4 separate regions of the Homo sapiens genome follow, and regions 1, 2 and 3 are each linked to region 4. The links are contacts of gene promoters, found by promoter capture Hi-C in blood cells and fetal thymus (Javierre and others, 2016). All regions are on one chromosome and are shown on one strand. The core of a region is centred on a gene start or on the middle of the fragment in contact, and the rest is flanking DNA. Distances in the headings are between cores, read along the strand shown.

Region 1 (7,256 bases), core at 766-3,265, 1.0 Mb before region 4:
AGGCAATTTTTAAATACATAGATTTCAGTGTGTCAGGGTGGGAGAGAGCACATCAAGTCTCTCCTTGGACTTTGGTACTAAAATAAACAATAGCACAGATTTGTACTCATATTCAGAAAACAATTGTACTCGTATTCAAAGTGTTTTATCAAGTATTACTAGAAGACTTAATAAGAGTTGGAAGAGTTCTGTTGGTCGTTTGAGCATGCCAACATGACTAAGATGCAGTTCTTGTCTTCAAAGAACACAATCTACCATTAACCTGACTATAAACCAGATTGTGCTTAGTTATCCATTAAGTTGTCATTGTAATTGTCCCAGTGAAAATGGCACATGCTGTCTCTACATCTGTCTTCCAAAAGATTTATGGAGAGAATTAAATTGATTTCTCCCTTTTCTCAGGTTCTGAGAGGAAAGGTTGGGTAACCTGACCTAGATGTTATATTCTCATTACTGAATTCTAACATGTTAATTCAGACATTGTAAGTACCACCATATGTCTGTTCCAGTCAACTATTTTTAGGATATGTATTTAACGACTTGGTTGAAATTTTTAAAAGTAATCCAGGAATTTTAAGTTTCTAAGAAACAAAAATGAGTTTTTATGGTAATGTTCTCTTGTGAAACAACTAATATTTGCTGTTGTAAATCAGCAGGGGGAGCTCAGCAAATGAATTTTAGTTTTTACTGAAGGCATTCCTAAAATTGTTCCTATTCATTTAAGAAACTAAAACAAAATGCTGAATATTTTATGTGATAAAGGCACTGCTGTTTCTTTTTCCTTTTTTTTTTTTTCCAAGCACTGTGTTTGTTTGTTTTCAAGGAAAATGAATGCATGTTTCAGTGAAAAAATGGTTTTGGAAATTAACTCTTTTTCTATTTCTCATCTACCCCAACATAAAGTTTGGCTTTGAAGCTTAATATCAGTGCACTTTTTCTCATCCATATCGACTCTTTCATAGTACTCACATTTGGCAGTTCTGCATCAGAGCTAAAGCAAAAGTCAAGGCTTTGGGTCTTTTTAGTATTGATAGAAAAATACTAGACGATGCTTCAGTCTGAAAGCCAAAAGAAAATACTATTTCCAAAAAAGAAAATGATTGTTTTCACAATGACCAAAGGCTGCCTTTTGTGGACTTGGAAAATCTGAAAGTCTGTCATTATTAGGACATATGTCATTATTAGGATCATTCTCCCCATTAATGATCAGCCATTTATAGCCAATAGCTATTGTTCATCTTGTGATAAACAATGCAAGCACTTATGGAATGCTTTTTTTTGGGGGAAGCCGTTGTTTCTAAACAAGTGTTTGTTGAAATCATTCCTAGTGTCCCAGATTAAAATGGGTGAAAACCTAGTTTTTGACATAGCATTTTGAGCAGGGAACACCTGCCCATTTCATGATACTCTGGTACTTTGGGGCTTTTGATCTAGTGGTGGGTCATGTGATGTCATTCAGAGTCTTAAACTTTTATTCCTTGATCATACTTTAGAGGCCTTTGTGAAGGTCTGACTTGCTATTTCAGCCATATTAATGCACACTAACCAACTGTGCTGTCTAGCGTCCAAAACACTGTTGTAGAATATTAATCCAGGTCATCATACTGATTTCAGGCAATGGGTAGCTTCTACCCAAAACAAGATGGCTATAACTGAACATAGACAGATAGTAATTAACTTTGAATATTAAAAAAAGAAAGATAAGCATACATGTTAGCAAATGCTGTTAAATAAAACTAATAATTGTTTTTAAATCTTAGGTTTTCTTTTTTTTATTCTCTGGAATTGACTTTGGCTCTTTCAAATTGAGGTAATAAACTTTAGAGTTGAAGTCAAAAGACTTGAAAGATGTTTAATTTCTAAAAAGTTAAAAAATCACTTTTTCTCTAGGTTTTTCTTACTATAAAATAGGGCTCAACGGTACTTGGTATCTCACAAGTTGTGAATATCAAGTGAAAAAAATAAATGAAACATAATCAGACCTTTTTGATTCCCTCATCCAACCTGCTTCTCCTTTAGTCTTGTTCGTCTGAGAAGATGGTGTCAGTGTCTACCTAGTTATATAAGCCAGAACCCTATGAATTTTCCTAGATTGTTTTATTTCCCTTCCCTCCAAAATCCAATCCCTCAGGAATCTCCTGCTGACTCTATTGCTGAAACATACCTCAATTTTGTCTATTTTTCCTCCATCTTATTACCATCACTTCACTCCAAGTTGCATTTTTTTCTCTTCTCTCTGCTGTAAAGATCTCCTATGATAGGCTTCCAGCTTCTTTTTCACCCCCCTCAGTATCCAGATTTCAAAGAGAAGCCAGAGTGATCTCTTATTAACATCAGTCAGATCATGTCCCCTCATGTAATCTGTCCCCTGCCCACCTCTTTCTCGTCCCCTTCTCATGCTGTGGAAGCCACACTGGTCTTCTCCTGCTTTAGAGGTCCTTTGCTATACAATCTAAAGGGAGCCCACATTTGCTCTTGATCACATCAGCATGGTTTATTTTCTTTATAACACATCCCTTATCTGATATTTTATATTTGTTCATAGTCCGACTTCCACTAGAAAGTGAGTGACTTGAGAACAGGAACTTTGTATTATTCAGTGTTATAATCCCAACTCCTACAGTATTGCCTGTCATGTAGTAGATGTTAAACATTTGTGGAATGAATGAATAAATAAAACACATTTTGTTTATTTAACAAATATTTATAATATGTGAAGTACGGCTGGGTGCATTGGCTCATGCCTGTAATCCCAGCACTTTGGGAGCCCAAGGCCAGAGGATCTCTTGAGCCCAGGAGTTCAACACCAGCCTGGGCAACATGGGAAGACCCCTGTCTCTACAGAAATGCAAAAATTAGCTGGGTGTGCTGCAGTGAGCTGAGATTGTACCACTGCACTCCAGCCTGGGTGACAGAGGGAGACCCTGTTTCATATATATAGCCTGGAGAGTCTTGGAGGTTTGACCCATTCACACAGAATTAGTAGCGAGATAAGGCCAATGCCCCTTCTCTTGGCCCATGGCCTAATGCTCTCTCCAATGTCTGGGCTGCCTCTGCAGCACATGTTTGCTATACATTCTGGATAAATAGACTCAAATAGAATAGGAATTCTCTTGAAGCTTTTTGATTCTTCTAAGTCTTTGAATTGAAGTGGGTCATAGGTTTTGGTGAATTTGTTATTATTTTAACCTACTGCTGGTTAATATGATATGGTAACCTACTTGATATGAGCCCCAGGCAATCTTGAGATTAGCAAAATTAGGTAAGAAATGCCTTATTTTTTTGAAGTTTTAAAGTATCTCATAAATATTTCTAGTTCCTTTTCATTTCCAGTTACTTCTTCACTTCAGGGTTCTAGAAAGAACCACATAAAGGAAATAGCAAGTTCTGAAATGCGGTAAGAAAAATAGTTTGTTTTTGAAGATTTTCTAGTTCAGTGAACAGCAGGAAGCACCAGCTTCTTTTCACAAAATCTCCAGGCAAATGTTTAATCTCAAAAGACTCCAGTAGTTTATAGAAACATTCTCAAAGTTGTGCCAGCTTATTTGAACCAAAGATAAATTCATGTATTTGATAGTCCCTCAGTCAGTTGTAAATACCATAGTTGGTCCCCCTTGTACAGTCCTTGATAACAAATAGGGTATTATCACAAGGCACAGGATGAGAAATAAGGATATTTAGAGTCAAGCTTTGACTTTGTGTCTGATTTGCAAGAACACTTAAAATGTTCCGTATGAACACATTTAAACCTTATTATATTTTCATATTTCTGGCTATACAAAGAAAATACTAATGACTGACATGAGTGCCCCATCCACCATCCCCAGTATCAGATCTTATAGAGTACTATAAATACGTTGTGTCCAACAAACGTGTTGGTGACTATTTGCCTTTATTTTTTCAGAAAAAGCTTTGTGTATATGGAATCTGTAATGAGAGTAGAAGTATTTTTTTTTGTTTTATAGAACAAAGGTTTATGATATTTCAGGGTAGGATTTCTAAAAGGATTTTTTTCTAAACCTTTCTCATCCTAATATATTCTTTGTGTTCTATCCAGTGTTTATCTTACATCCAGTGTTCAGTAGACAAATGGCCACATGGGTAGCTCTCAGAAAGTATTTGTTGACTCTGGTTCTATATCATTTCTCCTCCAAGAAAAGATAAGATTATTTTATTTATTTTGTTTAGGATTAAATACAATTTGTGAAAAGTATTTTATAAAAAAGGATCGAGACCATCCTGGCTAACATGGTGAAACCCTGTCTCTACTAAAAAATACAAAAAATTAGCCAGGCGTGGTGATGGGCACCTGTAGTCCCAGCTACTTGGGAGGCTGAGGCAGGAGAATGGTGTGAACATGGGAGGCGGAGTTTGCAGTGAGTCGAGATCACGCCACTGCACTCCAGCCTGGGCAACAGAGCAAGACTCCATCTCAAAAAAAAAACAAAACAAAAAACAAGTAGAATACAAATATAGATGGTGGCAATTGTTGTTGGTTATTAATTGCATTTAATCAGGATGTGGAGTGAGGCTATGGCAGAGGGCAGTTGGCTCACTCTGCCCTCACAACCCCAAGTCTTCTGGCCATAGTGATGACCCTCCTTCTGACCCACTGGACCTGATCCTTGCTCCATTGATATCTAGGTTGACATTAAAGGCAGGCACTAAGGACAGTTAGAGAAGGGGCTCAGGGAGGACATGAAAGAAAAGATAAAGCCTTCAAGAGGAGTTGGGACAGTGCCGGTCCCTATAGTTTAGAGAGGAATGGCCTCCTTTTTCTTAAAATTTCCTGCTTGAGGTACAAAGAAGCAGAATAGGAGCCATTTTAGGGAAAGCAGACAAGGATTACACAGTGATCTAGGGACCCAGGAGACTAGAAGTGCTGGAGAGCTTTCTTGGGAAGATGGGATGAGTGGGAGACCTGGCTTAGAGGACAGCTTTGGGATTCCAAAGCTTTGGAGGTTTCTTTTTTTTTTTTTGAAGTTAGAGGTTTTGCCTTTTGTTTATGAACTCCTTGACTGATGGGCTAGAGAATTCATGGAGGGGCCCAGGAGAGAGGAAGCAGGAGAAGCTACTTCAGATTGGCTAAGGGTAGGAGAGCCAAAGGAGACTGTTAGTTGTCTTCCCAGATGGTCGTGGTCAGCTCTCCCAAGTACAGTAGGAGTCAGGGAATTGGAATAGAATTTCTCATTCTGGTAATAGAAAACTGAACGTTTGGCTGAAGTTTTCCTTGGGCATTCTCTAGGAGGATGTTAAAGAGTGAGGAACCACAATCCCAAATAATTTTTAAGAATTCTGATCTCCAATCTCTGAGATTAATTTTGATACTATTATTACTAAAAACAATAAACATGTGTTGAGCACTCAGGGTATACCTGATCACTTTTAATGTTTATACCACAGAAAGGCAGATATTATCATAATCCTAATTGAGAACATTGAGGTTTTGAGAACTAGGCAATTCCCATATTACATAGCTAGCATGTGGATCTGGAAAGAAGTGATCTTACTTCTAGGCACAAAAACCGCCCTCTTACTGTTAACTTGGAAAATTTAGATGTTCTGAAATCAAGCTCTTTTACAATATTCCTAAGTATCACTGAGAGGAGAAGCCAGCTGGACTTCCTAGGTCAAGTGGGGACTTGGAGAACTTTTCTGTCTTACAAGAGGATTGTAAAATGCCCTAATCAGCACTCTGTAGCTAGGATTGTAAAACGCACCAATCAGTGCTCTGTAGCTAGCAAGGGGATTGTAAAATGCACCAATTAGTGCTCTGTAGCTAGCAAGGGGATTGTAAAATGCACCAATTAGTGCTCTATAAAAACGCACCAATCAGTGCTCTGTACCTAACAAGAGGATTGTAAAATGCACCAATCAGTGCCCTGCACAACTCACCAATCAGTAAAACGCACCAATCAGTGGTCTGTAAAACGCACCAATCAGCAGGACTCTGAAAGCCAATTGCAGGGAGGATTGAAAAAGGGCATTCTGATAGGACAGAAATGGAGCATGGGAGGGGAAAAATAAGGGAATAAAAGCTGGCCACGCCAGCCAGCGGTGGCAACCTGCTCGGGTACCCTTCCACTCTGTGGGTGCTTTGTTCTTTAGCTCTTCACAATAAATCTTGCTGCTGCTCACTCTTTGGGTCCGTGCCATCTTCAAGAGCTGTAACACTCACTGTGAAGGTCTGCGGCTCCATTCTTGAAGTCAGTGAGACCACTAACCCACCGGAAGGAACCAACTCCGGACACATCGCCACCCATTCTTGAGAAAGTTCTGCTTTGGAAAATAACTTCCTATGGCTAATCATTTATAGTTTACAAACTGTTTTCCAAAAGGTGTTTTGATCTCATTTTATTACATAAGGCACTTATCAACTTGGTGAGATATGATGGCAGTTTTGCAAATGAGGGCCTGAAGATGAGAGGTCCTCTTGTGGAACTTTTATAAAAATGCTTGGTGAGCTGCCATGTTTGTGATGGTTTGTTTTTGAACTGTGTGGTGGGAGGAAGTGCTTCTGACAATTTGTACTTTGCAAACATTTAATCTTTGATTTAACTCACCATTACAAGACTGCTGTTGCTCACTGATCCACCAAAAAATGAGGTAAAATAAACTTTCTTACTTGTTTTCATTAATCTATCTTAATGTATGCATAGCTCACATTTATTTCAGTGGTTAATGGTCAAGGCCATACATCTGGTAAATAGCAGTGCAAAGACATAAACCAAGGTCTTTTAATTCAAATCCATGTTTGTTTCACTTGCCACATGCCTTTTACTGAGTCCTGCCATTAGCTATCATGTAACGGGGCTTAAACATTGTGGTCGTCCTGGAATTTTGCCCTTCTTACTAATTTAACGGTTGAAAAAATATTTTGTGAAAATAAAAACAAACATTGCTGGAGATTACCTAGATTCTTTGTTTTTCTGTTTCGAGCCATCATGACTTCGAAGGTAAACGGAACTCACTTAGAGCCCTCACTGTGGAGGCTTTTCAGTGGTGTTCGTGGGGTTGCACTTAAGTCAAATCAGTGAGGCTCTCTTATCAGTGGGCTCTTCTAAGGTTGAAGGGATGGCGGGGCCTCAGAAACCAGAGGCTTCTTGCCAATTTGCATGGAGAGGTTAATGTAGAGGAAGAACCTGTTGAAGTTTTAGGTAGTATGACCTTGTAATCGCTTAACATTGTCTTAGGTTCTTGGAAACTGTGACTTCAAGCAATACTTGGTATAACAAAACTAATTTACCATTGGCTAA
Region 2 (6,373 bases), core at 2,277-4,776, 1.0 Mb before region 4:
ATTCTCCTGCCTCAGCCTCCCAAGTAGCTGGGATTACAGGCATGTACCACCATGCCTGGCTAATTTTTGTATTTTTAGTTGAGACAGGGTTTCACCATGTTGGCCAGGCTGGTCTCCAACCCCTGACTTCAGGCAATCCGCTCGCCTTAACCTCCCAAACTGCTGGATTACAGGCATGAGCCACCGCACCTGGCCCCTGCACTACCTTACTTCTTGTTTGTGCTGTGCCACCATGGCCTCCTTTGGAAGGAAGGAGCATAAGTGATAGCTTAATTATTATAATTTCAATGGGTTGTATCTGAAAGAATTTTAGTTTCAAAATATATTGAACAATCCCAAATAATGTAACAGATATAAAATATTAAATGCTAATATTTAATACCCTGATCATAGTAGGTCCTAAATAAATGGTACCGAGTGCTCATTCATGTAATACCCTGATGAAGAAAGTAAGTTGCAAAAATAATTGCTTTCTATTATGTAGCTATACAGAGATGAGACAGTTCCTACTTCCTTAATTCTTAAAGGAGCAGAAGAGTATGGCACCAGGAATAGAACTTGGGGCACAGCAGGTTCCTTTCTACTGCAGAAAAAGGCCATTCTGAAGCCACTTATAGTTACTTCTGTCTCCCAGAGCCTTTTCTGTGCATATGAGGTCAAGGTCAGTGTCCATGGAGCCTGGAAGGCTGTTCTGAAGAGAAAGGAGAGCCATGGGTGCACGCAGGAGCTGGAGTGGACAGTCCTGGCGGGGGAGCTGGGTAGGGTATGATGCTGGGCATGTTCACTGTGGCTAGTTAGTTCTGGGGTACAGGCATCCAAAATGCTCAGGTGCACATCACAGAAGGGAAAAGGAAAGAAAATCTCGGTCATGCTCCTTGGAGTTTCCTCAGAGAACAAGAATTTACAGCACAGCTGAATTAGGGCAGAGAAAAAGACCACCGAGTGCTTGTCCCTTTTTGTGGGCTCGGGGGAAATGCTTAGGTGAGACACAAAGCAGAGCCGCGTGAGGAGACTGCTTGTATGCATCACAGAGGCTGCCTGCGAGTGTGCGCATCCTCCTTTCCTTTTTCCCTCTTCAACTGAACACCCACGTCCTTATGGCTTTATTTTATTTCTATGCCTGAAGGTATTATTTTTCTGTCTTTTGTACATTTAATATAGATAGGGGTATACATCACTGAATTTCTACCATTTACACTGGAGGTTTGGCTATTTGAGGTTTGCAGCAAACAAAATTTTATTTGAATAAGGCAGACATTCAACTGACTTTATGAATTAATGCAAATATTTTCATTTAGTATTTATATTAGCTTCCTGTGGCTGCCGTAACAAATTGCCACAGATTTGATTGCATTGAACAACTGAAATATATCCTTTTGCAGCTCCTGGAGGCCAGTGATCCACGATCCAGGTGTCATCGGGGCCTCACTGTCTCGGAAGGCCTGGGAAACAGTCCTTCCTCGCCCTTCCCACTTCTGCTGCATGCTCACTGTCCTTGGGTTTCCTTGGCTTGCAGCTGCATCACTCCAGCCTCTGCTCCGTTGTCACATGGCTGTCTTCCTTTTGTGTGTCTGTGTCTCTGTATTTCTTATCTTTTTGTAAGGACACTGTCGTCATTGGACTAGACCCATCCTACTCCAGTATGGCCTCATCTTTACTAATTACATACCCTATTTCCAAACAAGGTCATGTTCTGAGGTTCTAGGTGGCCATGAATTTTGGGGGAACACTATTTAACCCAGTATACTTTTTGAGTGGATTCTGTAATGTATTGTTTAGCATTAAATTAGGGAATCTCCAGATTTTTCTGTGTTACCAAACTTGAACTATTGTGTATGCATGTGTATATGTGAGTCTTGACTTTAATGTGAAATTATTAAAAATAAGTTAGCATCTATCTTTTAATAGAAACAATGTCATTCACAATATATATTTGATAACCTACTTGACCTAGGAGGGCCTGGAGACAAGGAGTGCCAAAAGCTTCTCAATGTTGCCTTTCATAACTCCTGGTTTGGGAAATGACATTGATAGGAGCTTGCAGAAGCAAGTTATTTGAAATAAAGGCCCTACCTAGGGGAATTCTAAATAGAAGGAGAATTTTTAAATGCAGAAATCAATCAGTTAAATGCAAATAACTACAAATAATGACCAACATGGAGAAACCATGTCTCTACTAAAAATACAAAATTAGCCGGGCATGGTGGTGCATGCCTGTAATCCCAGCTACTCGGGAGGCTGAGGCAGGAGAATTGCTTGAACCCAGGAGGCGGAGGTAGTGGTGAGCCGATAGTGTGCCATTGAACTCCAGCCTGGGCAACAAGAACAAAAACTCCATCTCAAAAACAAACAAACAAACAAAACGAATCTAACTTGACTTGTCAAAGCAAGGCAGCATGACCAGCTTTGTCCTCTCAAAACCAAATTGTAGTCAGATAGGTGGAGTGACCCTGAGGCACATTCACCTGAGGAATAAGGACATAATGCTCCACAGCGTTCCTTAGAGTTGACATTGCAGTTAACACCTTTAAAGTGTTCCCGTCTCATTTCTATTCAGGATTCATGACTTTAAAATTTTTTTTTTTGAGAAAGGTTGAGATTATCTCCTTTGTGCAAAGTATAAGAAAAGAAGACTTTAAAAGCTTTCCACTATGGCTAGAATAGACTATCAGCAAATCCTGAATACCTCTGGTAGGTGGAATGCCACCTCCACTCCAGACTCACGCCCTTTTCACGGTCCTCAGCACCTTCTTATTAATTGTTGAAAAAAAGAGTCTGTTGTTCCACCGAAACAATTGTGGGCCCCCTGCAGGCAGGTGAGGCAGGCCTTCGGGCAAGGCAAACTAAAGGCCTTCTTTTCATCCTTGAGATCACACTCTGGGGGAACCTTTGCAGCCAAAAGCTGGCCTTGGCCACACAGCAGGCCTACAGCTCAGCCAGGGCCTGGCAGACACTTTCTTCTCTGCTCCTCACTGGCCTTCACTGTGTTCTCAGCTGGTGCTGTTGGATCTGAGTTTACCTAACTCATGGCCATTCCGTGGTGCCTGGAGTCCTGTAGGCTTTCATGGGTATATTTACTGGTGAGTTGACAAAAGATGCGTCACCTCTGCCAGGAGATATTTCCTGAAGCTACAGGTTGGGAAACTCATTTTCCTGTATACCTTTCACAAGGCGTGTGACATTAACTCAGCACTTACTACATTAAGTTATATGTGTGTGTTTATGTGTCTGTCCTACTCCTCTAGTTCAGTACACTTTTCCCCAAGGTTGGGCTGATGTCTTATATTTTTACTTTCAGCTCCTATCGTTTCTGAAATAGAAGGGAACTAGGTTAAATTTACATGTGTAATAAATTCAACCAAAATGCATGCATTAATCAAGACACTATAAGCCCAAAGGGAAATCATATTAAAAGACAGATTTGGAATTAGAACACAATTTAAAAGGTTTAATTGTATCTTAACCTCACTATGACACATATAAACAAAATTGTCACTTAATACTCATTTTTAAGTGTTAATGACAACAAGAAGCCAAAGAGTAATTCTTAGAATTAGCATGAGTTAAAAAGAAAAAAAAAAAAAAGACGTGTCCTACTGGTATAGATTTTTAAGCAAAATGCAGTTTACTTGTCTCAGGATCTCACTCTTGAAAAACTGAAGTGGCTAGTTGGCCAACCACACCGCAAGGGGGCTCCGCCTTGACGGCCTGGCAGAGAGCGGCGTTTCTGCTGCTCTATCACTGCAGCCTCACACACCAGCAGGCCGCATCTCCATGCATGAGATTCTTCCGTGGAAGCAAGGCTGATAATCACCCCTGTACCATCCCATCATTATTATTCACAAAGCATTGTCCTTGCTTAATTGCCTTGTGGCAACTCTAGCGGTTATTCCATGAAAATCAAACATGAGGCGCATGCTCTTAGGAGGTTGTAATCAAGACCTTCAGTGTCCACAGGACAAATACACAGAACATAGTAGGTACTCAGAAAGTGTGTGCTAAATTAGTGAATTAGTTAGTAAATCATGAGCTGAGCCTTATACAGAACAGGGCTGAGTATATCATTTGTGGAGAGGGTCAGGAAAAGAAGCAGGGGCAGCCCTGTTTGAACAGCATCCTTCTTCTGTGTAAGTATAGTTGGCAAGAGAACTTTTACACCTAGGCCAGCTCTGCCTGAAGGTGTTAGTGTGTGGTGAATTAAAAACATATTATCCCCCTACCTTGGCCATTTACCTTTCTAGGCTTTTCTTCCAATTCTCCTGAGTAGAGTACGTTTCGCTTCTGTCTCTAGACATTCTCCAGGGATATTGTTACTCTTTTCCCTCATTTGTTTTAGCTCATTATATTCTTTCTTCTGCTTACTGAAATTCTTATCCCTCAAGGCCCAGGATAAAATGTTATCCATGCCATGAAGCTTTCTCTGCTTGCCCAGACAGAAGTGTGTTCATCCTTACCCTCTTTAAATTCCTCCAGCACTTGACTTAGACCTTTATGCAATTCTTGCCAGACAATGCACTGCCATTGTTTGTGAACGTATTTGTCTCAGGTACCAGATGATATGCTTCTTAAGGGTAGTGTCTCATAAATTTCTCTTTATTTTCCAGTATGGCTTCTTGTACCAAGTATGGATTTAGCAAATATTTATAGATAGGAATGGGGAAAGGAAGGAAGGGAAGGAAGGAGGGAGGGGGGTAAGGACGATGGATGGAAAACACAGTGGAATCTCAAGCTGGAAGAAACCTTAGAGGTCACCTAATCTTTGCATGAGTTCCCTCTGTAACATACTCAGATGTCTCATTACGAATAATTTATGCATTTATTTATTTTCAAAATAAGTCAGCCTGTCTACAAATGGTTTTATTTTCCCTTTCTGGGAAAAGAGGGGGAGATGATGAATGATATAGATAAAAAAAGATGTTGAAATTTTGATAAAGTACAGAAATGTAAAATACAATTTTTATAGGGAGAAGGGAATAATAAAAATTATCATGAGGCAGTGAGCAATCATTTAACTTTACTGATTTTTTTTTTCCTGAAAGAGGCCACTATTAATCATTTCTTGCTATTCTGAGCATGTATTTGTGCTGCTGCAGATTTCTGTGCTCTTCTTTGTCAGTTTACGCCATTCCTTGGTGCGAAAGTGACAAGTAGTGATGGTGGGAAACTGACAGAATGAGGTGCAGGGATGAGTCTTGTTCATTTTTTGGGGATGGGGGTGGAGACATAGAATCTTCAAATATTTCTTCTGCCATTTTCAATGTGAAAGTGTGCCAAATATAAAATATATCTCAGACTAAATAAAATCTGTACTACTCCTTACCTCGTTATACATCTTCCCCCAGCAAAACACCCTATATGTTTTAAGGCGGGAGCACCCCAACACGTTCCACAATTGTCTACTTTAATCTTAAAAGACTAACAGAATTTTTGCCCCTGTCTTTGTGTTTCCTAGCTAGGCCAGTGAAAGGGAGCTCCCTGGTGACCTAGGGGTTTAGGCATTCTTTAGCTGGTGGCTGCAGAGAATGGATTGTGTTCTTGGTCAAGCAACCTTCTCGTGCTTGCTTTTTATTCCATTCCTTTAATATCATCACTGCACTTCTCAAGCCACACTGCTCCAATTCTCCCATCTGTTCATTGGCTTTGGGGGAATTTTCTTGTCTTAATGTGAAAACTTGCTTCACTATCCAAGGCCTACTGTTTTATGGCACATCTGAGAAAAGTAGGATGGTTGTTTGTTGACTGGCAGTCACCCCAAATATATTTTCTGTAACACAACTGTGTACAAGGCACTGTGTTTGGCAGTCAGGAAATGCAGTAGTAACTATTTTACCATAATACATTTATGTATGTTTAATTCTGTATCCTTTGTATAGGTAAGGTTATTATCCATAATTTATAAATGAGGAAACTGAGGGTTACAAAGATTAAGGACATGGGGCAAGGTTGCACAAGTAGTAGATGTTGAAGCCAGGTTTTGAAACAAGGCAATCTGACTCTACTTGAAATTTAAAGTCTGTATTCTTTTTTTTTTTTTTTTGAGATGGAGTCTTGCTCTGTCACCCAGGCTGGAGTTCAGTGGAGCGATCTCAGCCTACTGCAACCTCTGCCTCCGAGGTTTAAGTGATTCTCCTGCCTCAGCCTCCTGAGTAGCTGTGATTACAGGTGTGTGCCAACATGCCTGGACAATTTTTGGATTTTTAGTAGAGATGGGGTTTCACCATGTTGGCCAGGCTGGTCTTGAACTCCTGACCTCAGGTGATCCATCTGCCTTGGCCTCCCAAAGTGCTGGGATTACAGGTGTGAGCCACCTTGCTGGGCCTAAAGTCTGTATTTTTAAACATGAAGCTGACTGTCTTTATTCTGGCATGTAAAG
Region 3 (6,707 bases), core at 687-3,186, 1.1 Mb before region 4:
TCTCACATTACTATTTCTCCCAAAGCAACATAATTTTAACTCATACATCTCATGTTATTTAGCTTAAGGTTGAACTTAAGGTTAATGGTTTCATAATACTCAAATGTAACTATTACATGTATACACACACACACATATGTCTTTTTTGTTGTTGAACATTTAATCTCTCTCTTTTCCCACTTCTGCATATGATACTGTAATATATACTTTGACATATGCCTTTGACCACATCATTTATTATTTTCTTAGCTTAGAAAATTAAAAATTGAACTTAAGGGTTAGAACGTGAAACTTTTAAGGCTCTGGGAACATACTGCCAAATTTATTTCTTCAGATGTCCCAATTTTTACTCCTGTGAAAGTTAAGCCAACTATAAAGTTAGGGGGAACAGTCTATAATACTATCCTCACTTCTGACATCAACCACAGAGTTTGGGGGACCCCGAGACCACTATCAAGGCTTGATAATTCACCGGAAGAACTCACAGAACCCATTGAAAATTGTTATACTCAAAGTTACAGTTTATTATAGAGAAAGGATACAGATTAAAATTGGCTAAGCAAAGAGACACATAAGGCAGAGTCTAGGAAAAGCACCAAACATGGAATGTGCACTGGTTCTCTCCCCATGGAGTCAAGGCAGAGGTACTTTCTCAGCACTGGTGTGTGACAGTATGCATGGAGTATTGCCAGCCAAGGAAGCTTCCCGAGCCTTGGTATTCAGAGTCTTTATTGGGCTTCCATCCTGTAGTGAGTCCATGTGGCTGGTCTCAGTCTCCAGCCTCTCAGGAGGTCACTTAACACTTTCTGACTCAAAGCCCCCTACCCTAAGTCACATTATTACTATCTGGCTGACCCAAGCTCTGCAGGCAAACAACAACACTCCTATCAGGCATGACACTCCAAGGGTAAAGAGATTACCACTCAGAAGCTGAGGCGAAGGTCAGACTTCTCTGGGTAAAGTTAAATTCTTAGTACCCAACTAGTTTCAGCAGTGTAGGAAAACACCCACCTCACTGACCTCAGTGTTGTTGAGTATGGTCCTTAAGGAGAAGAACTTTGACAATTTTCTAGAGGAACAGATATCCAATTTTAGCTTTTTTTTTTTTTTGTATTACTAGCATGGATTACTTTTCCTTATGTTTGTTCACCATTTGTATTTTATCTTTTGTGATTTGTGTATTTATCTATTATCAGTTTTACTGTGTTAGTGTATTTCTAATTAACTCTCAAGAGTCTTTTATATCTTCCTCTTAAATTAATGATTACATAGGATTTTCTTAAATATATCTTATTTGTATTTGATATCTTTTTACATTCATTCCTATATGCATACATTTAAATATCCATAGAGAGTATTCCATAATTCAGTTACTCTTATAGCATATTTTTATTGTGCTTTATATTAATATTAACATTATTTGTTTAAGGTGATAGTAAATTCCTTAAGAGAAATATATGTGTTTTGTATCTTTTAAAAATCTCTGTAGCATCTCATGCTGGCCTTTATACTGTCAACAAATGATAACTGAAGTAAACCAACCTCCTTTTGTTTACTTTTGCATAGCAGTGACATTGTTTACTTCTTTTGCTCGTTTTCAGCCACCAAGCCTCCTGGTCACTATGGCTTCAGTAAGAGAATTGCCTCTATAGTTGTCTCCCTCTAGCAAAACACGAGCCCGTTACTGACTGCCTTTCTGTTCTGTTTGTTGCTCTGAAGGGGGTGTTCCTCAACAGTGCTGTGGTTCTGCTTGCTACAAGCCTGTGTCAGGCCCTGTGTCTCCAGCCTGATGGAAGCTGCACTGGAGTGGGAAGCCAGTCTGAAAAATCCTACTGGAAAGTGCATAAAATCAGCTCTGGGATTTGCATGTTTGAAAGTGTGAAAAATGCACAAATGTATCTAAGAATCAAGGATGGCCGATGCGATGGAACAGTAAGCATCTGCTCTTGTTTCTCTCAGCAAATGTTTAAGACATTTGCCAGTTGTAGACATGAGAATAGCACTTTCTGAGTGGGTTTTGGAAATTGAATGTTACATGTGGTGGTCTCCCTTGACTGGTATTTTTAATAAGTGAGGAGAGCAGCCACATGCCTGGTATGATAAGAGAGGAATCCTGACCCTCTAGATAGGGCCTCTGAAATGTAATGTATGTACAAATCACCTGGGAATTGTGTTAGGAAGTAGATTCTGATTGAGGAAGGCTGGCGTGGGACCTGAGTGTTTACGTTTCTAACAAGCTCTCAGCTGTGGCTGCTGATGCTGGTCCATGAATGATGCTTTGAGAACCAAGGTTCTAGAAAGGCCAGCTCAACAGTGTCTCCTTACTGCTCCTTTTGGTGCCTGAATTTCCACCACTGGAAACCCTGTACTTGACTAGGAAGCTATTTTAAATTCTAAATATTAGGGGTTTTTCTTTTTGTATTTTTATTTTTAGAGACAGAGTCTCACTCTGTCACCCAGGCTGGAGTGCAGTCATGCAATCTCGGCTCACAGCAGCTCAGGTGATCCTCCTGCCTCAGTCTCCTGAGTAGCTGTGACTACAGGCGCATGCCACCATGCCCTGCTGATTTTTGTACTTTTTGTAGAGAGAGGGTCTCGCCATGTTGCCCAGGCTGGTCTCCAATGTCTAGGCTCAAGAGATCCACTGCCTTGGCCTCCCAAAGTGCTGGAATTATAGGCCTAAGACACTGTGCCCAGACAGGGGTTTTTCTTTAACACCTTGAGCCTTAGGAGGGGATGTGGAAGACAACTAACATAACAGTTTATATATATTCATAATTCTTCTGTGGGGTGAGGAACAAGTAAGATTGCACATTTAACCTCCCTGTTAATGCTCTCCATCTATTATTGTTTAAAATAGTTTAGTTTAAATTAGATCTTCTGAATAAATTCTGAGGTCCGCCCTCTCCCTTCTTACCAGTCATGATGTCTAGCTATAAGGAAGAACTTGCATGAGCTTCTTGGGGTATGAGGAGGGAGGACTTTGACCTTTCATGGTTCCCAGGGTCCCTGTCGGTGCTGCAGACTGGTGAGTTTGTGTCAGGTGAGCTGCACTGATGCTCACAATGCAAAGGCGAAGCACATGCACATACACACGTGTAGTTAATATCCCTGATCTACCCACAAGTGCATAATGAAGTAGATTTTATCACCATTTCACAGAAGAGGAAGCCAAGCTTAAGAGACAAACTCATGCTTGTAGTCTTTACACTGGTAAGTGGACTAATTGGGATAAAAATGAGTAACATTATTACTATGACTAGACTAGTTAGAAGTACAATTTCATCTAATGTTCAGTTACCCCCTAGGACAGAGTGTCCTGGGAGGAAATCAGTAAGTAGCCTTCCTATCCTCAACATTCACAAGTTATACAAGCCTTTCCCTTCTGGGGCTCGCAGGAGTGTTCAGAACCATGAGATAATGTGTCACTATGTAATACATGCTTTTGTGTTTGTGTTTGGAAGTTGCTGGGCAGAGTTTCTAGAGGCACAGGTAAGTGTCACTCCAAAGTGGGAAATGGGTCAACATTGGAAATGTTTATCTTCCCCGGGTAGTAACCAAAGGGATAGCTCAGTGGTTGCTCACTTTCTATTTAGCTGCCTCATACTCTAGCTGAATGGTGATTTCTGGTTTTTTTTTTTTTTCTTTTTTGAGACATAGTCTCACTCTGTTGCCCAGGCTAGAGTGCAGTGGCGCAATCTCGGCTCACTGCAAGCTCCGCCTCCTGGGTTCATGCCATTCTCCTGCCTCAATCTCCAGAGTAGGGACTACAGGTGCCTGCCACCATGCCCAGCTAAATTTTTGTGTTTGTATTTTTAGTAGAGACGGTGTTTCACCGTGTTAGCCAGGATGGTCTCGATCTTCTGACCTCGTGATCCACCTGCCTCAACCTCCCAAAGTGCTGGGATTACAGGCGTGAGCCACTGAGCCCAGCTGAATGGTGATTTCTTGGTTCTTCACTTCCAGCCTGTATGCCTCTCTCTGACTCTTCCATTTTTTTTTTTTTTCTCAGTGTGCTGGTTATCTTTTTCTTCCCAGTGAGTAAACTTCCTCTGTAAGTTTTTAGCAGAATCTTTTTGTCCTACACTTAATATTCATGCTTTTTCTTCCTATTTGTGCTATGGGTGACTCAGCTCTATCTGATGGGGCTGAGGGACTGGAAGAAGTCCTTGGCATTCAATTGAAAGAATCTGGTGATCACAGGAAGTTGGATGGAGTTGTACAGATTAAAACACAGAAGTATTATCCTGCCACAAAGAAACTATTGGCATGCTCATTCTTCAGATGCTGAAGCTGAGTGTGAGCCTGGTTAAGTATCTCACCCAGAGTCCCCAGGTAGCCTTAGAGCTGAGGCTTTGTCCAGGTTTGCCCACTTCCTAAGGCCCCATTGTGGAGGACTGAGAATAACAGGATGGAGAAACTGGTTTTCCCCCATGAGGAGACCAGAGTCAGGATACATGAGGCAGAGGTGATTCTAAACACAAAACCAAAGTTTTCTTTAGAAATTTCCCAAGAACCAGCCTTGTTGACAGCATGTCAGGTGAGTGAGTGGCTCTGAAATGGGTGGGAGAACACTCTGTGCCATGCCAGCCTACGTTGTGCTGCTTTGCATCAATGTTGGAAGCCCCTTCTGTTTTCCCTTCCTGAAGGGCTTCACAGGATGAAATGCCAGGTTCAGGACTTCTGTGTATGTTGGAAGGCAATCATGCTGAGCTGAGCTGAGCTGAGGCAGGCAATCATGCACTGGAGTTTCAAACCCAAGTATCACTTCTTCTTAGAGATATTTCACAATTTGAAAAAAGCCAGAGGCATTTATTCTGTTTGCTTTGGGGAAGAGATAGCCAAAATGGAGAACCCAGTGAAATTGATTGATAAAGGTGAAAGAGCATAAATGAGTTGGTTACACAGAATTTGATATACAGAACATTAAAATAAGAAATATTGCACATAAGGCAGAGATTCTCTAGGCCTTTTGGAGATAAGCACACCATAGCTAGGTTACATGAGCCTTGTCCAGAGGGTTAAGGTCACTCCTCTGAGGCCTCTGAAGGCAACACATGTGTGTAAAGTAGTAGCTAAATGCAAAAAACACTGGTAAGGGGAGCTGTGTAAAGGGGCAAACCAGAAATAACAGGTCCATATATGCTGGGGTGTTACTCAAAATACTGTATTTAACAAGCAGTTTGGTACACTGAAACTCCTGGAGTGCAACCTTCAGGACAAGCAAGGAGCAAGGATCCTTGAAGGTCCAAGATGTGGATGAGGTATTGGCTGGCCATGCCATCAGGGCCCCATGTTTTTGTGCTGGGATCCAGGCCCTGACGCCTAACCCTGGCAGTGGGCTGTGACCTCTAGGGGTTCTCCCATTCTAGGGCAACCAGAACATGAGGGAGACACAAGGGGGCTTAGACGATGGCTATTCATCATCCAATATGAAAATATTGATGCAGGATATTTTCTTGACCCCTTTGCAGGTCTTGCAACAGGGGTGCCCATTTTACTTAGCCTGCCCCGCTCAACCCTTCATGGGAGGGAGCACGCGAGCAAACAAGTGCAGGCACTGGAGCAAGTGAGTGCAAAAACTGGCCAGCTGCTTTAGCACCAGCAGGAGCAAACTCTGTGCAGGCCCCATGGCAGCATCCAGATGGGGGTGCCTGCAACCCCAAGGTCCCAGAAGGGGTGTGTTACAATGCTCTGTTAGTCCCACCGTCTGTAGACAGCAGTGTGTTATCAGTTCTGTGGGCCCTTTGCCTCGTTGTGTAGGGCAGCTGCCCTCCACTGGTGAGGGCAAAGGGCCAGTGTGACAGCCTTTTTGGCTACCCGCACTTGGTGCATCCTGAATTTTTGTCCACCACCCAAGAAGAATGAGGTCACATGGACAAATTGAAGGATGGTGAATGTGGAGAATTTTATTGAGCAATGAAAGTCGCTGTCAGCGGAGAGGGGAGCTGGAAAAAGGATGGGAAGGGCAGGTCACTCTACCCTGAAGTTAAGCCACCTCTGCCTCATCCAGCCGCTGTCTCTGAAGTCAAGTTGCCTCTCCCTGATGTCCAGCTGCTTATCCTCTCTACCGACTGAGTCTGGGTCTTTATAGGCACAGGATGGGGAGGTGGGGCAGGCCATAGGTAGTTTTGGAAAAGGCAACATTCGACTGGTAAAAAGACATTATTCAGAAAGAAACAATCAGGAGAGAGCCGACACACAAGGATGGAAGTTTTCACTTTGGGCTGTGGGTTTCAGGCTTTTCACCTCAAAGGTGGAGTTTTGCCAGGGGCCACTCCTGTCTGCCTAGCGTTTCTCTGACTCCTGTTGCTGTCAATATTACAGTATTTAAAAAATGTATCTGGCTCTACCAATGTGTATCAGTTCAGTGTCAATCCCCAGAATAAGGTGAGGTGAGTGTAATCCTTGAGGATTACAGAGAAAATACTGTTACTATGTTTTTTTAATAGACATTTGTAAAAATCTTTAGCTTAACGTTAAGGTTTTGAAGATCTTCCTGGCCTACATCATACTGTACATCGGTAACTTTTGCCCTTCTGCCTCCTAAACTCAGAGGCTCAGAGGCTCAAACATTCTCTAGAGGTTTCTAGCTTCCTATTATTTCTGTTAAAAATTCCAATCCTGTTCTTGGAAGATTATTGCATTGGAAAGTTATTGCTAAAAGATTTGAAATTTTACACAGCCTGTCCATAAAGCCAGAAGCT
Region 4 (6,904 bases), core at 3,252-5,751:
ATGGTGACATGTACCAATGATCCCAGCCACTTGGGAGGCTGAAGGGGGAGGATCACTTGAGCCTGGGAGGTAGAAGCTGCAGTGAGTAATGATCAAGCCACTGCACTCCAGCCTCAGTGAAAGAGCAAGAGACTCTGTCTTTAAAAAAAAAAAAAAAAAAAAAAAGGGCCAGGCACAGTGGTTCATGCCTGTAATCCCAGCACTTTGGGAGGCCAAGGCGGGTGGATCACTTCAGGTCAGGAGTTTGAGACCAGCCTGGCCAACATGGTAATGCCGTCTCTACTAAAAACACAAAAATTAGCCAGGCATCATGGTGCATACCTGTAGTCTCAGCTACTTGGGAGGCTGAGGCACTAGAATTGCTTGAACCCGGGAGGCAGAGGTTATATAAGCCGAGATTCTGACAGTGCACTCCAGCCTCAGGGACAGAATGAGAATCCCATCTCAAAAAAAAAAAAAAAAAAAGATAGGAGAAAATACACCCATGTTCAATGTCAACGATAATTCATCAATGGGAGTGAGAAACAGATGATGTAGGAGAGGAGATAATTGTTAGAGCTCTGTCCTTGACTAGGCCAAAGGGGACAGGATACAATGTACAAGTGGATGGCCCTGAGAAGTTTGTGCCAGATACTATTCTAAATATATCAGTAAATAAAATAGTTATCTAAGAAAACATACGAAAAACACTTACTTTCTGGCACATAGTAGGCACCTAACAAATGCTGGCTAAATATACAACTGAACTGTGTTCGTCTAAAACTTTTTTTTTTTGAGACAGAGTCTCACTCTGTCACCCAGGCTGGACTGCAGTGGCTCGATTTCAGCTCACTGCAACCTCCACCTCCCAGGCTCAAGCAGTTCTCATACCTCAGCCTCCCGTGTAGCTGGGACTACAGGCAAGCACCACTGCACCCAGCTAATTTTTGTATTTTTAGTAGAGATGGGGTTTTGCCATGTTGGCCAGGCTTGTCTGGAACTCCTGGCCTCAAGTGATCCGCCCGCCTCCACCTTCCAAAGTGCTCGGATTGCAGGCGTGAGCCACCCTGCTTGGCCTCATCTAAATCTTTAACAGAAATCTGGATCAAAACAGTATCCTAAAACCTGCTACTAGAGAACTATCAGAGGAATTTGAATAAAATGCCTTTCAGTAGATAAAATGTAGCACTTACTTTTGATAATATGACAAAGTGTCTTTAAATCTCAATGCAACCCCTTAATTGTGCAGATAACAAAAAAAGTAAACACAGAAAGCCAAGTTTGCTTGCTTAAAATTACTAAATTAATTCAGTAAAAGCCAAGAACTAAAATTAAAATCTAGTCATCTTACCTCCTGGTCTGGCTTCCAACACACTTTCTTTGATATATCTCTCTTTTTCTCTCTTGACAGAAAGAAAATATTAAGATTGCAATTTCTGTCTTCCCTATACTTCTGCCTGGCCCTTCCCCTTCCCCCTGAATTTACCTGGGGGTGTAACTGACTTCTTATCACTTTATTTTAATCCAAGAAAAATGACATGGGCCAGGGTGGCTCACGCCTGTGATTCCAACAGTTTTCGAGGCCAAGGTGGAAGGACTGCTTGAGTTCAGGAGTTTGAGACCAGCCTGGGGGCAACATACTGAGACCTTGTCTCTACCAAAAAAAGGTTCGCCAGGCATGGTGGCACGTTCCTGTAAGTTGCAGCTACTTGGAAGGCCAAGGCAGGAGGACTGCTTGAGCCCGTGGAGTGAAGACTGCAGTAAGCTATAATGATCACACCACTATACTCCAGCCTGGGCAACTGAGCAAGACCCTGTCTCGGGGGCAGGGGGGAACTCTATGTACTAGAAGATGTTTTGGGGGAAATACAATATTTTAGTTCTCAAAATTCCAGGTTATTTTCTACAGCCCCCTGCTCCTAAAAATCTAAAATAAACACAGTCTAATGCATCACATATAAAGTATCTTAATTTCCCTATCTGGAAATCACGTAACTTTTGTAAAAACAAGTAGACAAGGCCACGCGCGGTGGCTCATGCCTGTAATCCCAGCACTTTGCGAAGCAGCGGCAGGAGGATCACCTGAGGTCGGGAGTTCGAGACCAGCCTGACCAATGTGGAGAAACCCTGTTTCTACAAAAAATACAAAATTATCCAGGTGTGGTGGCGCATGCCTGTAAACCCAGCTACTCAGGAGGCTGAGGCAGAAAATCGCTTGAACCCAGGAGGCGGAAGTTGCGGTGAGCCAAGATCGCACCATTGCACTCCAGCCTAGGCAACAAAAATGAATCTCCGTCTCCAAAAAAAAAAAAAAGTTGACAAGCTCAAATATCACCATATTGACATTGATGGTGAGGATATGGACCTTACAGATGTTTAAAATCAGAGTATTTCAAAAACTAATAAATCAGAACAGAGAACTTTTTGGCTTTCAATAAAACCTTAAGAAAGTGTATCTATTTTAGGCTGGGCTCAGTGGCTCATGCCTATAATCCTAACACTTTGGGAGGCTGAGGCAGGCAAATCACTTGAACCCAAGAATTCAAGACCAGTCTGGGCAATATGGCAAAACCTTGTCTCTACAAAACACACACACACACACACACACACAAAATTAGGCAGGCATGGTGGCATGCCTGTAGCCCCAGCTACTCGGGGGGCTGAGGTAGGAGGATTGCTTGAGCCTGGGAGGTAGAGGTTGCTGTGAGCCGCGATCGCGCCACTACACTACAGCCTGGGTGACAGAGCAAGATCCTGTCTCAAAAAAAATAAATAAATAAATAAATAAAGTATATCTATTTTGAACACCCATTACCAGTACTTTTCCATTTTACTTTTAGTATATAAGTCACATTGAGAACATTCTGAAAATGCCAATTAAAAGATATAGTCACTGAAAAACAAGTTTTCCTGTTTCCTTTCTGCATATTTAATAATGGTTTAACAGAGATACAGCACTGTTTTACTGAATAGGACTTCTACTTCAAACCATGAATAAAGCTGCAATTTAGTATTTGTCAAGATAGCTGGTAAATCTAATCCTTTTAGCTTTAATACTTTTTTTATTTCAAGCTTTAAACTCGAGGTTCTGATACAAATTACCCTTCAAGACTTTTCTTTAATCCTAGAATGCCCAACTTCTAGCTAAAATCTTCCACTCTGTTTCATAATTACTGTTCTACCCTTATTATCGTAACCCAGCTACTCATCCCAATAATGCTGCACATCTATACTGGTATATCTGTAACCGTGCAGCACTCTTACCTTCTTGAACCAACAAAATCAGCCTATCTCCGACCTCAAAGTAGGGCAGCAGTAAGGAGGTGGGAATAAACATTTGAAAATGAATATTTCCACTAACTAGTAAATGTGGCCAAAATACTATTGAAAATACCATTCAAAATGCATGAATTTTAGCTCAGTTTTTATATAGTTCTGAAGAAGTACCAATACTATTTTGGCATTTCGTAGCACCAACCACGTCCGAAGCGCTCCAACTTTCAAGTCTGAGCTTGTCTCTGAAGAAGTTGCCCGTGCAGCCTCCATGAATACCACACACCAAATACTAACTGCTTTTTAACAGATCCAGCAACGCTGCTGTTTCCATTTTCTCCATCCTATTTATGCCCACATGAACTTTTTTCTTATTAGATAATTAGTAACTTGAAGGCAGAGACCTGTTTTACAGGCTGCAAACCCCAGGGACCGAGACAGCACTTAACGCCTACAAGGTCCAAACCGACGCCAACGATTAAGCGCACAAAGGAAAGGTGTAATATACATCATTTCGTTTAGTCCTCCCTGCAGCCTCATGTAGTAGTTACTATTAATCAACCCCATTTCACAGGTGATCAAAGGTAAGCTCAGAAAGGTGAAGTTGCCTGCCCAGGTCACAAGGTAGGACCAGGATTCCAAGCCTGATCGGTCTGGATACGAACGCTCTACCCACGCGGCTTTCCCCCTACACTCTCGGGATCACCACACACTTCCCCTTGGCTTTTACACCGGAGGCTCGACCTGGGTCCCGGAACCAGCGAAGCCACTGGGCAAGCCTAGAGGCCTCTACAGAGGCTAGAGACGCCTCGCCCCACCAGATGCATTAGGATGAAACGCGCCGAACCGAAGGTTTAGAGCGCCAGGGGAGAAGAGGGGCGGGGAGAGCAGGCTCTTTGACCCAGAGGAGGGAGGATCTCCACACCCGGCCACTCTGGCGCTGGGGCGCAACACTGAGGCCGGCGGGAAGCCGAGCCTGCCCGCGAAGAGACTGGGGATTCCGAGGCGGCTCCTGGGAGACCGGACGCGCGCGGCCTCCGCCGCTCCCAGTCCCGCCAGACCCGATGCCGGGCTGGAGAAGCGCGGGGGCCGACGCACCTCGGATAGGCGGGGGCAGGGGCAGGGGCAGCTCTCCTTTACCCTAGAGCGGCGACAGAAGCTCTTCGGGGGATCAGTGGCCAAGGGGGCGGACAGATTTGCACGGCGGATTCCTCCGAAGCAACCCGTGTGAAAGAAGCCAAGCGGCGGCTGCAGCCCGGGCCGCGATGGGGGTGACACCGCCCGTGGTCCCGCCCCTTCCCGTGGCCCCTCGGAGCCACTTCCGGCGGCAGCGTCCGGGCTAGTTCCCGGCGCGAGCGGCCGCGGGCCAGTTTCTATCTCCTCATCCAGGGCTTGCGGGCGAGGCCTGTTTTAAGTCTCCAGTAACCGAGCGGAGGCCCGGCAGGCGCGACCCGGGCTGCGTACGTCAGAGCTGCCTCCGAAGTGGTAAAATGTGCTGCGAGAAGTGGAGCCGCGTGGCGGAAATGTTTCTCTTCATTGAGGAGCGGGAGGATTGTAAGATACTGTGCCTTTGCTCCAGGGCATTTGTGGAGTAAGTAGAAAAGAGAATCTCTTCATGTTCTAGCACAGTCATTACCCAGAAATGTAGGTATTGCAAACGTGGTTGTAATTGATCCCTGAAAGCAGCCAGAACATCTGACCCTTGGGCACGGTGATGTTTAAGAAAAACAAAACCCTCAGACATGACGGAGTGGTCGCCCACTGCCATTATTTTTATGTGAAGGACTACATCTACTTGGTAGGCTGCTATGAAAAAATGTCGTAGGTGCTATATGTCATCTCATATTTGTAAATCGAGGGGACATTTAAAAATTGGGGGAAAGCGACATGTAAAATGAAATCTCTAGTAGATATGATGTCATAAAGTGAAAGTTTAAAGTTGAGTGACTTGCTTTGGTTAACGTCTTTTTTTAAACCTAAAAATCTACTTAAGCCCAAATGCACATAATTAAAACTTCAAACTAGTTGAGATAAAAGACTTAACCATATTTACATCAGTTTTTGTGATATCTTTATTTTGGGGAAATCTTTGAATCAGGTAAAAATTGCCCCACATGAAAAATAGCTAGTATGCAGGAATAATACCGCCAAGAGACTTGAATTCTAGGAATTGTTTCCTTTATATTAAATGCGTGAGTTAAACCACTTGAACCTTTTTTTCATCTCTATAACGGGTATATTTAATCTCACATGCTTATTTTGTTAGAGTTAAATCCTTGTGGAAGTGAATTTTATGTGATAGACTTTTAATATAGTTTAATATAGTAGGATTTAAGTTTGAAGGAATTCATTTTTCTCGTGTAATTTTGTGGAGTAATTTGAAAACGCAAAAAGAAGTTAAACTTGTTAAATTTAATGTAAAAAGTATTGTCGCCTTTTTAGTCAGGCATGCATGTAGTCATACAATCATTCAGAAAATGTTTTTTGTGCTCTTGTATATCAAGTATGCTGGTAGGCACTGAGGTACAAGACATTCTGTCCTTACATGTATTGAGTTTACTTCCTAGCAGAGAAGATCAATATTAAGATAACTGGTTACATTATTACTTGGTTGATTATAGTTATAAGTGCTATGAGAGAGAAGTGCAGGATGCTGTGAAAACAAATAACTTTCCAAGGGTCACAGAGGTTTCTTTGAGGAAGTAGCTTTTGGAAAGAGGTCTAAGGGGGATAAATTGGGGTGAGTTTCAGTGGGAGAAAGCGTTCTCTGCAGGCTGAACTCAGTAAAGGCCTTGAGGGAGCAAAAGAAAGCCTGGGAAACTGAACAAAATGGCTGGGAGGGAGGGCACGGTGGTGCACACCTGTAATCCCACCACTTTAGGAGGCCGAGGAGTGAGGATCACTTGAGCCCGGAAGTTGGAGACTAGCCTGGGCAACATAACAACACCTCATCTGTACTGAAATTTTTTTTTAAAATTAGCCAGCTGTGGTGGCACATGCTTGTAGTCCCAGCTACTCTGGAGGCTTGGGCCAGATGCTCTCTTGAGCCCAGGAGATCCAGGCTGCAGTTAGCCATTGTCGTGCCTGGATGACAGAGCAAGACTCTGTCCCGAAAAAAAAAAAGAAAAGAAAAGAAAGAAAAGAAAAAAAACTGGGAAAGAAAGAAGATAGGGTGTGCACAGTAGGCAGGGTCAAAACCCGCAGGACTTTGTAGACTATAGGAAAACCTTAAGCTGGGGAATGACATGATCAGATTTGCATATTTAAAATACTACTCAGGCGGCAGTGTGGAGGATTGTTTGGAGGAAGAGAACCACTTAAGACCATTGTTTAGGCAAGAGATTATAGTGACTTGGATTAGGATAAATGGCAGCAGAAATGGAGAAAGAAAGAAAGATGGGAGAAAACTTGCTGGGGGTGGGGACTGAATTGTATTGCTGCCTTTCACTGAGGTAGGGATCACTGGAGAATCATGAATTTTATTTTGGGTCAACGGAGAAGAGATTATGAGTTTGATTTTATACATTTTGATTTGGGGGTATCTATGAGATAACCAAGAGTAGATGGTATAAGCAGTTAGATATATTGATTTGGAGCGCTGGAGAAGTCTGGGCTAGTTTTAAAAACTTGAGCCATTTAGCCTTAGATAGTG

What was found. Contacts are between HindIII fragments. The CHiCAGO score rates a contact against its expected background, and 5 or more counts as called.
Region 1: a contact is called between a fragment that was not itself captured here and the fragment with the promoter of TMEM68 in region 4, in 1 of 17 cell types (total B cells). The highest score is 5.1, in total B cells.
Region 2: a contact is called between a fragment that was not itself captured here and the fragment with the promoter of TMEM68 in region 4, in 3 of 17 cell types (total B cells, naive B cells and M1 macrophages). The highest score is 6.1, in total B cells.
Region 3: a fragment that was not itself captured here is called in contact with the fragment with the promoter of TMEM68 in region 4 in 1 of 17 cell types (total B cells); the score reaches 6.8 in total B cells.

What each region holds. Positions count from the first base shown.
Region 1 is chr8:54,744,897-54,752,152 of GRCh38, forward strand. It overlaps a transcript of RP1 not described here. Among named protein-coding and RNA genes, the nearest start is that of RP1, 130 kb to the left of the region's middle. The HindIII fragment of the contact is 2,203 bases long and covers 915-3,117 here.
Region 2 is chr8:54,761,341-54,767,713 of GRCh38, forward strand. It overlaps a transcript of RP1 not described here. Among named protein-coding and RNA genes, the nearest start is that of RP1, 150 kb to the left of the region's middle. The HindIII fragment of the contact is 1,772 bases long and covers 2,641-4,412 here.
Region 3 is chr8:54,704,724-54,711,430 of GRCh38, forward strand. It overlaps a transcript of RP1 not described here. Among named protein-coding and RNA genes, the nearest start is that of RP1, 92 kb to the left of the region's middle. RefSeq lists a silencer at 6,706-6,707. The HindIII fragment of the contact is 2,475 bases long and covers 700-3,174 here.
Region 4 is chr8:55,768,877-55,775,780 of GRCh38, forward strand. TMEM68 (transmembrane protein 68) reads right to left here and starts at 4,502. Exons shown (of 8, transcript NM_001286657.2): 1 at 4,393-4,502. TGS1 (trimethylguanosine synthase 1) reads left to right here and starts at 4,570. Exons shown (of 13, transcript NM_024831.8): 1 at 4,570-4,843. The coding sequence starts at 4,743. RefSeq lists enhancers at 3,404-3,907, 4,679-5,008 and silencers at 4,129-4,258, 4,349-4,538. The HindIII fragment of the contact is 10,724 bases long and covers 3,050-6,904 here.